Regions from separate parts of the Homo sapiens genome. Here region 2 is linked to region 1. The links are contacts of gene promoters, found by promoter capture Hi-C in human tissues and cell types (Jung and others, 2019). All regions are on one chromosome and are shown on one strand. The core of a region is centred on a gene start or on the middle of the fragment in contact, and the rest is flanking DNA. Distances in the headings are between cores, read along the strand shown.

Region 1 (3,018 bases), core at 363-2,862:
ATGAATTGCAGAAGTGTGTTCATAATTTAATAGGCTTATCTTCAACAAAAACTTAAATGGTTTGTAGATAAATAACTGGATAAACTATTCGATTTGATTTCTATAAATTGAGATTACATTCATACTCAACATTAACATTCATCAAATAACATGGATACTTAAACTCGCCAGGTACTGTCTCTAACTACAATGCCCTGAGAAGGGAGGTATTTCAGGAATATAGTAGACTACATGCTGCGTTCAGCCCATATCTGCAGGTGCATGTCTTCCTCAACAGCCAGCATGCCCTCATCGTGAGCGAGCAACCCCTTTCCGACAGTTAACATTACAATGTATCTTTTTAATTTTTTTTCTCAAGGACAGAAGAAAAAAATATTTAACAGAAATCAGTCTACTATTCTACCACTTGCTGAAACTAACAGTTCCCTTTACATAAATATACAATTTCTCCAACCAAATATCATATTTTATATTTACTCTCACTTCATGTTAATTTTTATAAAGGTTAAAAAAACAAATACTTTGTGATGATTTGCCACCCCAGCGGCACAAAATTTTCTGGTGCAAAATCGATTTGATCTTATTAATTAATATTGTCATTATTATTTATTTTTCACCAACTTGCTTAAGAGGTACATACTTTCTTTCTTAAGGTAGTGTTTTGACAGAGAGAACCTTAATGCTGAACTTTAGAAAAGAGAAACCAAAAATGTCATAAAATTTGCCAGGGCTAGACACACAAACGGGGTGCCCCCACACATTCATAGGTTTGGGCAAGCCCCCAAACCTTGGCTTACCCAGGAAGCCAAACCCAGACAGCCGTCTTGCAATTGCAAACACTGCCCCCCTGGAGCAAAAGGTAAATACACAAATGCTCCCCTAAGGAACTTTAAGTTAGCTGCAGTGCAAGAAAGGAAAAAGGTCCGTGCTATTAGAAACTGAAAGCAATCACTTACTTTTTGCAGCCACTGAGTATAATTTTCCATCACATGTTCCAGATGTTGAAGTTTCTGGGAAGAGAAATCCGGTTCCACGTGTGGAGCATCTCTCTGCAGAGCGTTTGTGTTGTACTGGTCTGTCGTACTCTCACGACAGTTGCCATCGTGTTCTGGAAGAATGAAAGTGTAGGCACATTGCCCATGTTGAATCCGGTTATATCTTCTCCCACTGTTTTCTGGACTTCGGCGCTGATTGCTGCACCCTATGTGAGTCAGAATGGCAGCGAGGAAAGCAAAGGAAAGGAAAACTGTCATTGTACTGCCAGCACACTCCTTCCGTGCCTCTCGCAAAACTTGCTCCTTTCTTCTGACCTCTAAAACTAGTTCTTTATTTCAGGTAAAACTGCTTGTTTGTTTGACTCTTTCCCCCTCAAAGAAAGCGTTTGAAGAAGAATCATAGAAAACTAGCCATTTGTTAGCTTTGTTCTAAAATTTTAAAATTTTTTATTTCACTGCAATGATGTTTTTCTTCGTTAAAACTTGAGATATTTATTGCATAGTAGCTGAGATTTATTGTTTCCTCTCTGTGTGACCGTTCAGCATGGAGCCTGCCTGAGTCAGCTGCGTGTACATATTCTAGACCCTTTCCTCTACCCTATCTGCTGCAGATCTGCTATTTTCTCCCAGACCTCAGTGAGTTTTATTAAGGTTGCACATCCAAGCCAAGCTGGAAGCAGGCAGCCTTTCACAAGATGACTTGACAGGAATGCATGAGTGTGCCCCTATACTAAGGATTGCTGATGGCTTAGGGCGGCGGGATCGTCTTACAAATTGGCTAGATGCGCATGACCTCGATCATGTATGGCCCTCCCGCCCCTTTCCACAGACAATTGCCTTGAGCCTTTAGCAGATTCATGGCAAATCAATAAATAGAGCAGTCCACCTTAATACACTTTTGGTGTGCATGCTGACCTACTAAAATATAGCAAACTAGCAGTATGTTTTTAAAGTTACTATTTAGTCGAGGGACCCTAAGAAGAAAATTGGCATAATGTCCAATGGAATTATTTTTGATAGAGAATGATAAACCCATATCATTATTAAATGTCTTTAAAAAACATGTATTCTTGACTCTGAGGAAAAATATGTTAAAAAACAGTTTTTACAGATGGTATTCTTTCATTGTATTCACTTAGACTTTTAGGAGTTGAAGAAAATAATCAGAGAGGATCAAATTAGCAAGAAAATTAGCATCATTTGTTGCTCAAAGCAATATGTTGCACAAAGCAATATAGTATGTGCATATTAAAGAGGGTTATCTAAGTACCTTTTGGTATAGGGTTCTTAAATGAAACTGGTGTCCTGATCAGAATGCAACCCTTCATGTTCTGTGTATATAAATTGAGCAACTTCCCTACAAAAACAATGTGGCTACAATTTAAAGCAGTGGCTTGAGAATTATTAATTCCTGTGGTATATCCTAATCCTGTATTTTACAAGGATCTCTTTGGTGGCTATGGCTGTCTTTAACACTGGTGTGGAAGTTCCACATAAAAACCTCCTGTGGCTGCACAGACATACTATGTGAGAACAAGCATATATCAGGTGTGCTAACAGCCAGCAATGGGCTGTACAGGAGACATCTCTGTGCTTCTGTGAAGGAAGAAAGAAAAATTATCAGAAGATGATTTCCCACAGGCAGCGTATAAACATTTGAACAAAGGGACCCATAAACATAAACAGGCAATAATTGTAGAATTTAGGGAACGGCTTTGAGATCTTTACTAGATGCAGAAAACCTGAATTATGAGTTGGGATTTTCATTAGGAACTGGGAGGGCTTTTAGACAACTGCAGTCATGGTGTGAAAACAGAAGCCACAGCTGTCATCTCCCATGTCTTGGAAGGAGAACAGGGCAGTGGGTGAAGGTCCGTAGTGGTTAGAGATGGGCATTTAGGGAGAAGTTAGAGGAGAGGTCAAAACAAATTCCAGAACAAATGCGATTTACTTGGGGAAAGAAACCTTGCCGAGATTCATCAGTCCTTTCCACACCAAATAACAAATTTCTGATTGGACAGAT
Region 2 (3,070 bases), core at 447-2,946, 110 kb before region 1:
ACTGAATCACAATTATTGATTTGCATATGTTAAACCAACCTGTGTCCCAGGAATAAAGCCTACTTGATCCGGTGAATTAGCTTTAACGGTGGACTGAATAAAGAAAATATGGTACTTATACACCATAGAATACTACACAGATATTAAAAAAAAATCAGATCCTGGCCTCTGCAACAACATGGATGGAGCTGGAAGCCATTATCCTAGGTTAGTTGATGCAGGAACAGAAAAGCAAACACTACATGTTCTTACTGTTAAATGGGCTAAACACTGAGTACATGTGGACAAAAAGAAGGGAACAATAGACAAGAGGGCCCATTTGAGGATGGAGGGTAGGAGGAGTGAGAATTGAAAAACTAGCTCTCAGGTATTATGCTAGTTAGCTGGATGACAAAATTATCTGTATAGCAAACCCCTGCAACATGCAATTTACCCATGTAACAAACCTGCATGTTGTACACCTTGAATATAAAATAAAATTGGAAAGAAAAAACACATTTATTTACAAGTACACAGCAAGAGAAAAAAGAAGAGAGGCTGCCTTAAAATTTAAAGTACTTCACAAACTGCTGGTAGCCCTTGAGTTGAGCATCCAATAGGTGGTGTTTCAATGGTGTATTTGTTAGAGATAAGCCAACCTTAAATCACATAGGTTAGAAATAAGCCAACCTTAATGATTAAGAACGATGACTCTGGAGTCAGCTTGCCTGGAGTTGAATCTTACTCAAACACTTAACTTCAAGTGTGGTATTAATTGTACGAATGATAATTATACCTAAGATTTGGAAGAGGATCAATACATATAGAGCATTCATTATAGTGCCTAGCATATATAAAGTCTTAGCAAATGTTAGCTATTATTATACACTAACACAGTCTCGAAGTCAGTAACTAGTTAATACAATTTGCAGAGTGCCTTTCTCTGACAGACTACAGGGTATTCTCTTTTGGAATTAATATACAGTAAAAACTGAGTAATCTATGGTAACGTGATATAATTGTATTATTTTTGAGAGTGTATTAATTTATTAAAAACAAGTTATTAGACACAAACTATGTGCCAGCTACTGTGCTAATGCTAGGTTACAAAAATAAATGATATTCCTTTAATAATTCTTAGTTTAGTGGGCTAAATAGACAGGTAAACTATAAAAACCCATAACTGAAATGTGTGCACAGCACTGTGAAAACAAAAGTAAAACACCCTAAGTAGTCGGGAAAGGCTCCACAGAAGGGATAATTTTTAAAGCAAACCTTAAACAAAGTGGTAGAAGACAGAGAAAGGAAGATACTAAGGATCAAAGGTGCCAAGTATGAGCAACGTTGATGAAATGACCTGAAGATATTCTCCAAGTTCAGATTCCTTTGTTTGAGTTCAGATCCCTGCTGTATTGAAACAAAATAGGAGTTGCTAACTTCTTCACATGAATTCTTCCTCTTTTGTGCCTATTGTTAAAGCATTATTGACATAAAAGGCCAAAATGCTAGCAAGTACCTTTCTGTGTGCACTGCAAAATCCCTGGGCAGCAAAACTTTCAAGCAAATAATTCTTAAACTGAAATAACAGTTTATACTTGTTGATCATTTGGGAGAATTATAATATTACCAATGGTACAATAGACTATTTGTAATAGTAATAAATAGTACGATAGCACGAATCATACTATAGTACGATCGTACTATTTATTTTTGCTCAAGATTGTGAATAATTGACACTAACATTGATTATTCACAATCTTGAGCAAGGATAAACCGAAAAAAGCTTTGACAGAGAAAAAAATGGTAGGAAATGTTGAAAGAATTCAGATTCTGGCTGTGCATGCTATTTAAAGACTTCATTCCAAGCAATACTATAATCTCTACCTAGGTTTTTTTTTAAGATTAAATTTTGTATTATAGGAGGAACTATTGATGCTGTTCTTTACTTTTCCCCACAACTTTAAAAATAAATTTCTTTGAAGTAAATAAGTAAAATGTCTGAATCCCAACTCCTTTCTAAATTTTCAGTGTCTTAAAGAATATTTTGGGAATCTGTTATATATTTCTGGGTTTTGGTCGACCTATTTAAGAGTATGAATAAGTTAGACAATAATTGCCAGTAATCTATATTAATTGTTTCTCAAGTTTGCTCAATTTATAATGAGATGAAAATTTTTTTATGAAGAAACTAATTCATATTTTCACAACTTAGTTTTTAGTAACATGAATTGCATACAAATCATAATTATGAGTAACAAACGGTGGTCTCAACAGCTTTGGATAAAGTTCCTGAAACAAAATATTATACAGTATATCTGAGACCGGGCAACATAGCAAGACCCTGTCTCTACAAAAACTTAAAAAGAATTAGCTGGACATGGTGGCATGTACCTACGGTCCTAGCTACTTCAGAGGCTGAGGTGGGAGGATCACTTGAGCCCAAGAATTTTAGGTCATAGTGAGCTATGATTGCACCACTGCGCTCCAGTTTAGGTGAGAGAGCAAGACCCCATTTCCAAATTATTTTTTAATAAAAATAAATAAATAAATAAATAAAACAAAATATCCTAGTCAATGATCAATATACCTGAAAGGAGTCAGGTTCCATTTTGTAAACAGAAGCTTATTCTGAGCCATCCTTCTCAAAACATCTTAGCTCGTTGTCATTTGAAAAAATACCCCAAACCGCCTGATTATACCGTTCCTGTACACCACTTTTATGGACTTTGCATAGCATAGTCTCTAGAGTGGACCTGCTTTATTGCAGAATTTTCAACGCACACCCGTGAATCTGTAAAGAGATTGAGACAGTAACATTCTGTATCCTGGCAGAGATTAGTGGCAGAGCCGAATTGATTGGCTGAAGAGTATGGAGCATTTCCTGTGTTATTTTCCTGCTGCTAAAAACTCTTTCTGCAATGTATGGATCAAATTAACACTAGAAGTTACTCCTTTAATTTCTTTGATATGAAATAGTAAAGTATTACCAGAAGGGCAGTTTCAAAAATCATTATTGTACACTTTTGTTCAAAGGAGCCTGACATATTGTTTATTTAATTTGAAGATCTATGGCTATATGGCTGCATACACA

The links. The method cuts DNA at HindIII sites, captures the fragments that hold promoters and counts their contacts. A contact is called where the count stands out against the background at its distance.
Region 2: a fragment that was not itself captured here is called in contact with the fragment with the promoter of ANGPT1 in region 1 in 3 of the 25 tissues and cell types used here (aorta, hippocampus and thymus).

Annotation. Positions count from the first base shown.
Region 1 is chr8:107,496,306-107,499,323 of GRCh38, forward strand. It overlaps ANGPT1 (angiopoietin 1), which reads right to left and starts at 1,613. Exons shown (of 9, transcript NM_001146.5): 1 at 957-1,613. The coding sequence starts at 1,253. The HindIII fragment of the contact is 10,393 bases long and covers 1-3,018 here.
Region 2 is chr8:107,385,920-107,388,989 of GRCh38, forward strand. The region is part of intron 1 of ANGPT1 (angiopoietin 1); the gene reads right to left. Among named protein-coding and RNA genes, the nearest start is that of ANGPT1, 110 kb to the right of the region's middle. The HindIII fragment of the contact is 3,714 bases long and covers 1-3,070 here.